2 separate regions of the Homo sapiens genome follow, and region 1 is linked to region 2. The links are contacts of gene promoters, found by promoter capture Hi-C in blood cells and fetal thymus (Javierre and others, 2016). All regions are on one chromosome and are shown on one strand. Each heading gives the region's core, a stretch centred on a gene start or on the middle of the fragment in contact. The rest is flanking DNA. Distances are from core to core; before and after follow the strand shown. Region 1 overlaps RABGAP1L (RAB GTPase activating protein 1 like). Region 2 holds the start of METTL13 (methyltransferase 13, eEF1A N-terminus and K55).

Region 1 (4,721 bases), core at 1,952-4,451, 3.2 Mb before region 2:
TAAAGACGTGTTTAGATTCTCAAGATACAAAAGCTGATGAACTGAATTATGAAGTTGAATTTCATTCATTTAATTTTTTCCACAGAATTTAATGAAAATAGAAATGATCAATTCTTAGATACTGCAAATATTAGATTTTCAGAGGAATGTTTTGTACAGAGTGCATCCTAGCAAAGGATGAAAAACACTAGAATGTTTTGAAACTTTCCTGGATATTTGGCTGGTTAATCTCTTCTAAGTGAAATTCAAGAGAAGAGATGCAATTCTCAAATATATCTCAAAATAACTAAAATTAAAACTAGGAGTTACTTCATGCTGGGATGCATGAGTTTTCCAACAATAGACAGTGAAGGACATATTGTTTGGAATATTGCTATTATAACATATTGTATGAACAATCATATCACATACCAAATTCTGAATTTTCTTTGTTTCTAGTCTTTACTATTGCTACTGACTCAAAGGCATTGCAGTGAAGGAGAGTTTAGGCTTATGGTACCAACAGGCATACCCAAGTATGATATGGGGCTGGAGAATAAAAAAAAAAAAAATATGTATTGCCCTCGTAATCTTTTGAAAGAGCTAAAAGAAAACTCAAAAGATGGACTTATCAAACTTGAGAGGTATGTACCTGGTGATTTTTCGAGACGGAATTTTGCTCTTGTCGCCCAGGCTGGATGGAATGTAATGCCGTAATCTTGGCCCACTGCAACCTCTGCCTCCTGGGTTCAAGTGATTCTCCTGCCTCAACCTCCCGAGTAGCTGGGATTACAGGCACCCGCCACCAAGCCCGGCTAATTTTTGTATTTTGCAGTAGAGATAGGGTTTCACCATGTTGGCCAGGCTGGTCTCAAACTCCTGACCTTAGGTGATCCACCCACCTCAGCCTCCCAAAGTGCTGGGATTACAGATGTGAGCCACCATGCCTGGCCAGGGGGGATTTTTCTCTTCTCCTCTTTAAAAGGAAAGGGACTATGAAGTTGAACAAGGTCTTTAGATAAGGGATTGACCTAGAGCCATTATGTTTCTCCCTCACCTACTATTATTTAAAGAAAATTACACACTTTAGGCATTCTGTGGAATGTACTTATTTTTGTAAATTGAAACAAGCTCTGTACAGAACTATGAAATTCACAACACAAAAGAGCATCTTTAATTTAGCTGGCCATTTGATAAGGCAACTGCACAAGGCTTCTTGGAATCAAAGCGTAAAGTACCAGTAAAGCTAACAGCCTATACTAAATGATTTACAAAAACAAGCGCCAAGATAACATTTTCTAGCTATTACATTTTACAAAAAAAAAAAAAAAAAAATTAGCTTATCTAGACCACCATGTAGAGAATGTTAAAGCCAACACAGACACTTGGAATGCTGGGTTATGTTCCTTTTTGTTAAGAAAATAAATTTTGTAATGAAAGATGTCAGAACAACAATGAAAGATTTATGTAAGAAAAGTATTATCTGATGAGTATAACATAACAATCACATCAGTTTTATGGGCTGTAGAGAATATAAACACAGATAAAGGGGATTTCACTTTTTAGAACATAAAAGATCATTTTAGAGGAAAAGATCCACTGTGAGCAACTTGGTGCATCCTCCTGGGATGTAGATGGCTCTTATTTGATTCTTCTAAGGGTGTGTTACTTTTAATTGCAAAATATGGCACAGATGAGAATCATTCTGGCACTACAGAGTTTAAGATTCTTTGCAAATAATATGTTCAACAATGAGGCCAATGATTAATATCAACAAATGTTATTGTACATATCTAATAGTAGTTTGGTTGGTTTGAAAGGATCAGAGGCCTCCAAAATAGTTTATAAAATAAAAATAGTTTTGCTCTTATCAAATAATTTCCTGCAAGGACTATTTTTATAGGCATGTTAAATATAATTGAAAAAATATTTCCACTAATTTTTAAACAATAGCTTTACCTTTCCATGAGATAAGTATTTCTGTAAAGGTTTTATATTCAATCAAAAATGTTACAAATGCATTTGTATCTCTTTATGGGTACGAAGGACACATTTTCAGGGAACTACAGAAATCAGAAAAAGTTGCCCAGCATTAAACTAAGATGATGTGAGCCTGACCTCTATTTCCCATTTCAATACTATGTCCTTTAACAAAGTTACAGTATTGTTAGTGTTTCCTTAGCAAGTATATATCAACGTTAAATGAAATACTCTGTCCCTGGTTCTATATTCCACTCTATTCAGCACAATGGCTGAACCTGGGGCTTTTTAGGCGTCTCTGGTAAAGGCTCCCTAAGTCTGTAAGGTGCAATATCCACCTTTAACTTTATAATTGCCAGAAGTCACATCTGTGTCCATACTTTGGTGTACTTAGGAACTCACAAGTCCTATGTGGCATTCTTAAAAGGATCTGTTAGAATACCACAGCCCAAATGATCCTGACCTACACTTATTAAAATTTCAGTTCCTTTTACCTAGCGTATAATCTGAACAGCCCGTCTATTCCTGGCACTTCATTTCCAGATGTACCGAACAGAAAATGAAAGTAAACCAATGATCGCTGATTGGTTCTTTCCTTTGGACAGGATTAACACTTCCCTGGGAATCAGGCTCAGGAGGAAACCTGAGAGTGGTCATGCCTGGCCCCACAGTGTGCTTTATCTGAATAAATCCTGAAAACTTAAGATGTTTAGGTTTCAATTTTTTTTTTCCTGTGACAAAGATCTTCTTATCACTTCAACCTTGGAATAACAGATGTCTCCATTTTTATGTAAGATAAAAATAATTATGAATAATTCTAAATAAAAAAGCATTTAGTTCTGAATTACTTATTTCCAACTAAACATCAGGCAAACAAAATAATGTGTAATACTATGATGGATCTGAACATGGCCTTCCAGAAGCTGGAAAATAGGTATTCAACATAGAACAGGTCAGTTTAAATAGCATCCCTTTGAAAAGTGTCATACAAGAAAGAGTGAGAGCTACTGAAAAATTCTGGCTTGTTTTCTGGCCTCCTTGACTTTCCTTCAAAGGGACACCAGGAAGAATCCTCCCAGATTTCCATTGGTTTGAACATTGTGCTCTTGTGCTTGGGTAAGGCTGGAACTATGTGCTCTCCTTGGGTGGCTGGGTGACCGGTGCTGGCTGCAATGGCTGGGTGCCCGTGGCCGTTTTGATAGAGTTCAGGGTTTTGCTAAACCAAGAGTTTTTCGCAGCTTGGATTTCATTCATAAGGGCTCCTCTCTGATGTTCAAGTTCCTAATTAAAGCAAGAAAATCATCTGAGTTAAATAAATGTTTTCTCTTTGCCAATAAATAAATAAAAGTGTGCAGCTTTTTGGAGTCTCAAGGTATGTGCTGCCAATTTTCCTCCCACAAAACCCAGGAGAGATTGAATTGGCTTCTTAGTACAAGGATAAAGTTAAGAGCTAAAAGACTTATCAAAAATCTAGAATCTGTGCTTTCTTTAAACAGTGAAAGAAAAGCTCATTTTATTCTTTTTTTCCCTGCAAGTTAGGTCCAAATTTAGGTTTAGGTTGCAATCCGATATAACAGGTTTAAAAACCACAAATAAATGTAAACATATGGATGAATTTTTACTGATAGTAGAAGCATGAATGAATTCCAGTTCCAAAGAAATAGGCTTTGCCCTAAGAATGTCCAAGGTCAGAGCAGACACATGGTGGAAGCTGGCTGGTGTGGTGGAGGCTGGTGACATGGCAGCCATGGTGCTGGTAGGGATCACTGGGAAAATGAAATGAAGAAGAGTCCATCAGAAGCCAGGACTATTTCTAATTATATTATGCGCCAATATGGAGAAAGATAATGGGGAAAGAGGTTTGACAAAATGAGCTAAAGATAAAAAGAAGCTCTAAAGGAAAGAACGGGTGTCAGCCAATGTGTGACTCTCAGGGTAGACACAGCAGAGGGGGTTTGGTTTTTCATTTTCAGGATCAGCCACTGAAGTGACCACATTCTGTGAGAAAGGATGTAAGCAAAAAATCTCAGGGTAAAAAAAACAAGCATATGCTTAATTAAATTCCCATAAGATATAATTTTAATTATTAAAATTTCATTTAAAATTATATATTTGTTTATATCAGCGTTAAGAATACATGATATAAAATGTGATTATGCAGGACACATTAGCAGACAGAAAATGTATTCATCATACAATTCTGACCTAGATAGGTGTATTCTGAAGTACTAGAGTATCCTGGACCATTAATTGTTTATTCTTTCTTCTTGTTCTTTTATCAAATCACCAACCTGAATTTTACACTTGGCCTCCACCAACTGCAGTTTGGTTTGTGCCAGTTCCAGTTCCATCTCTCTCAGCTGCTTCTTAAGTGAGTCCTTCTCATCATCTGTTTCAATTCCCTGGTCCTCTCTGCCTGTGGCTGCTAGTTTCAAAGCACCCTCCTTGCTGAAAATGTCACTGCAGTGTTTGCATGCCATCATCTTACCCTAAAGTATCCAAAAGAGATAACCAACATCAAACTATTCCATAGGCTAAATCACCTTCTGAAACAATTTATGACTTTTTTAGATGCTGCTTATTGTCATAGATGCAGGCCCATTTCTGAAGGTTAATTATTTTTCTTGTGCTGCAATCAAAATCATTAGCCCGAACCCAACTATCCAAGACGGGTGCTCCTTTTTCCTGAAGTATCTCTAGAAATACCCTAGAAATAGAAGGTATTGTAGCATCTCTTTGAAATCTGTTCTAGAAATTTTATG
Region 2 (4,148 bases), core at 1,230-3,729:
GTGCACCCTCACCATCCACCCCTCCCGGGAGAAGTGGCCCACTGCTTTCTTCAGGATGTGAGCCTGAGCCAGGGAGATGCAGAGATAGCGACCGCCCACCTGCAGGACACGGCCAACCTCAGCCAGCATCCTGTCCACCTGTTGTAAGGTCTTCTCTTCCTCATCTGTCAGGACAGCATCCAGGGTGCCCTTGTCCAACACCACCTGGAACGAGGCATCAGGAAACTCCATCTGCGTCATGTCCATCTTCAAGAAGCTCATCTGGGGCCGTCGGGTGGCATTACATTCCTTCATTTGCTTGATGACAACCTCACTGATGTCGATGTTCACTATATCCCGATAGCCCACATCATACAGTTGCTCACTCAGTTCTGAGTTGCCACACCCAATCACCAGCACCTGGAGAAAAAATTCACAGACAAGAGGGAGGTAATCAAAGCAAAGGACTGTACTTCAGGTACTTCAAGGAATCAAGTCTCACCTTGGCTGAGTCACATTTTCAGAAGGTGGAGACGCTACTGCCAGAGAAAGAGCGACATTGTAGAGTTGATGCTAGACTCTATCTTGAAACACCACATATACTTGCTAGTGAAAACCACATTCAGCTACAATACAGGTTATATGAGAATGGGCTTTGTGTTGCAGAAACAAATTAATCATAACTGTTCTTTTCTCTAAATCATGCACTTATTACTCAGGAATTAATAGGAAGTCAGAGAATCCAAATATAGAGTTACAGTTGAAATCCTAGGCCAGGAATAACCCTATTTCCTCACTCTACTCATGCCTTTGGCTCCTTTAGACAATAAAGTACACTTTGTGAGGATTCAAATCTTACTTCCATCACGGATTCCATCTCATGATATTTGGCTATCTTCTGAAGCCGAACTTAAAATTCAGATTGTTGTCTCCCTCTCCAGGGAGCAATCTCCCATTCAAACTTAGAAATTCTGATATTGCCATCTTTGGAAAAGCATGGTACAAAGAGATGTGCATATGCTCTGGAGCCAGACAGGCCTGAGTTTAAATCCCCACATGACCACCTGGACATGATCTTGGGCAAAAAAAAAAAAAAAAGTGGCTCTCGGGGCCTCAGTTTCCTCATCTGTAAAATGTATGCATGGCCACTCACCTGAATTTATGATGAGAATTCAAAGATTGCACATGCACATACACAGCACCCAACATAAGGCTTGGCACATAAAGCTTCCCCACAAATGTTAAGTTTTCTACCTTCCTCCTTCCCTACCTCCAGTACAATCTCACCTATACCAAACCCATTGTTGTACTTATCACGTTTCACTTCTGGAACATGTGCAGGGTTTACGTCTTAATGCTCTTATAGTTTAAGGACTGAGCAGTGCCTGAAACTTGGGGCGCACTCAACGACTATTTGAAAAACAAATTCATACACAAAGTCACACCTGCTGCAGGTTGCACAGGAATGCACAGTGACAGAAGAACATACTTTCAAGATGGGAAGTCACTCTTCAAGTAGGGTTATTAATCCAAGAATGAGCTGGGGTGGGAGGTCTATTATCTGAAAACCTTTAAAGAAATGTTTTTTTTTTTAGACAGGGTCTCACTCTGTCACCCAGGCTGGAGTGCAGTGGCGTGATCATGGCTCACTGCAGCCTCGACCTCCTGGGCTCAAGCGATCCTCCCGCCTAAGCCTCCCGAGTAGCTGGAAATACAGATGCGCGCCACCACGCCCGGCTAATTTTTTCATTTTTTGTAGAGACGAGGTCTCATGTTCCCCAGGCTGGTCTTTAACTCCAGGGCTCAAGCGATCCTCCCACCTCGGTCTCCCAAAGTGTTCGGATTACAGGTGTGAGCCACTGCGCCCGGCCTGAAAGAATATTCTAGTTTGTCTTTTAGCAGGAACAATGCAGGAAATGCTGAAATATGCGTCCAACTAGGGTCCTCCCGCCTGTCACTGTCCACCAAGTGCAAGATTCCTGTTACCAGTTCCCACCTTCCGGAGCACGTACGAAGGGCTACCAACCCGCGCTCCTCACCTTTTCCCTGGGCTTGATATATTTATGTAGCACCCCGCACAGTTCCAGGTAGGTTCCATACCACTCGAAAGCTTTCTTTCCTCGCTGCTGGAAGAACTTCTCCCAATAGTCAACGGAGCCAAACTCCCTGGAACTTTTAGGTAAGAGGTTCATGTTCCTACTGCCGAAGCTGCGTTTTCAAGACTCCCCTATTCCCTGTGAGATACCATTTGAGGAGCTTGCCCACCACACGCAGGCTCCGGGACACTGCAGTGGGAATTCTTTCCACGGAAAAACAGCCACATTGATTTGTTCCCCCACTCCAAACCCCAGGAATGACCCTTACACGACAAACGCACGCATGGACCACTGAATCTCACACACGCTTGCCCCCTCCTCCGCGCCTGCTGTTCCTTCCCCACGTGAAGAGCCCCTCACACTTTTCCCGAACTAGATTTCCGAGCCCATAACCATATCCGGGTGCGAAGCCTCGTGATTCGTCGGCCGGCCCAGCCCAACTCAGCTAGTCATTGGTCGCTGCTTTGCGTTTCTATCACCTCATTGGCTGCGACGTGCTTGCCTTTCTCCGGAGGCTCCGTCGCAGACACCTAAACGCTTTTTTGACCTGAGGCCGGCCGACCATTCACGGAACGGGGCGGGACCGCGGGCCGGAGTTGTGGCGGAAGAGGCCGGGCCTCTGTGAGAACTAGGTCACGTCCGGGTGAGGAGTGAGCGCGGCTGTGCTGTGGTTGGGCCCTCCCTCCAGGCGGGGCGGAGAGCGCGCTTGCTTCCTGGGCTCGGCCTCCGCTTTGTCTTGGAGCCGGCTTAATCACTGACTCCGATCGTGCGCCGCACAAGGGCGGAGCGCGGCAGGCGGGAGCGTACTGGTAGAGGAGGACGAAAAGAAAAACCTATACAGATAGGAGAGAAGTGAGGCAGGAAATGAGTAAAGCCAGTCCGTCGTAAAAACGCTGCACATTCTAACCTTGTCAGCTTCTGCGCACCAGCACCCCCCGCCTTATTTTGCCACCTCTGCACCAAAATATAGGATTCTGCTATCAAAAGTGTAATAACATGAAAACTCCCTCTTCCTTCTCTCCGCAAAGCACAGCATGCAAAACTAGCCTTTCATTTTGATAATTGGCCTCCTTGTGTTATTCTGACGTTATTTATAACTGCTTATTTTATGTGTTTGATAAACATACTGTACTTTCACATGCTCATGCTAATACCCTGAGGAAGCTTCTGTGAAGGGCACTTTTTTTTCAGACAGGGTCTGTCTCTGTCGCCCAGACTGGAGTGCAGTGGTGCAGTCATGGCTCACTGCAGTCTCCACTTTCCAGGGGTCAGGGGATCCTCCCACCTCAGCCTCCCAAGTAGCACGCCACTACCGCTGGCTAATTTTTTTTTTTTTTTTGTAGAAATGGGGTTTCGCCATGTTGTCCGGGCTGTTCTCAAACTCCTGAGCTCAAATGATCATCTCGCCTCACCCTACCAAAGTGCTGGGATGACTGGTGTGAGCCACTATGCTGGCAGGCACTATTTGAAAATGACCAAATATGTGTATCACTGGGCCTTTCATACCATGATAAATTGCAGGAGGAATATACTGATTGCGGAGAGCAGATAGGCTTGGAATTGAGCATGTGTGCTGTGGGCTGTTACATACTACACTACCACAGGTAGATAGCCAGGTAGACTGTTAATAGTTAAGTAGGTTAGATTGGACTTAAACATTGGTTTAAAAAAGTGATTCTCAAACTGGCATGCGTCAGAATCACCTGGAGGACTTGTTAAAACACAGAATTCCCCAGTCCAACCCCTGTTCTAAGTCATTAGTTCAGTGGTGAGGCCCAAGGATTTGTGTTTCTAACAAGTTCCCACGATGCTGATGATGTTGGTCCCGGAACCACACTTTTTTGAGAACCACTGTTTTAAAATACAATTAAGTCAAAATGGATATGGTTCAAAATTCGCAATTTTCAATGATAAATCTAAAAGCTTTCTACAAGTAACATAAGAGAAAATCTGTTTTCATGATCCCTTTGCTGAGTTCACATTGTTCCTCTCTACCCAAGATAAAGAGAAGGAGTCCTTGAAGTAGTAACTTCAGCTACTACACCATGCAAGGTTCTGAATGGGTGAAATGTG

What was found. The method cuts DNA at HindIII sites, captures the fragments that hold promoters and counts their contacts. A CHiCAGO score of 5 or more calls a contact.
Region 1: a contact is called between a fragment that was not itself captured here and the fragment with the promoter of METTL13 in region 2, in 2 of 17 cell types (total CD4 T cells and non-activated CD4 T cells). The highest score is 7.6, in total CD4 T cells.

Annotation. Positions count from the first base shown.
Region 1 is chr1:174,988,368-174,993,088 of GRCh38, reverse strand. RABGAP1L (RAB GTPase activating protein 1 like) reads right to left here. Exons shown (of 26, transcript NM_001366446.1): 25 at 4,251-4,448; 26 at 1-3,240. The coding sequence ends at 3,088. Among named protein-coding and RNA genes, the nearest start is that of CACYBP, 9.2 kb to the left of the region's middle. The HindIII fragment of the contact is 8,943 bases long and covers 1-4,721 here.
Region 2 is chr1:171,779,991-171,784,138 of GRCh38, reverse strand. METTL13 (methyltransferase 13, eEF1A N-terminus and K55) reads right to left here and starts at 2,479. Exons shown (of 8, transcript NM_015935.5): 1 at 2,019-2,479; 2 at 1-399. The coding sequence starts at 2,171. RefSeq lists enhancers at 2,133-2,666, 2,496-2,790. The HindIII fragment of the contact is 1,150 bases long and covers 2,092-3,241 here.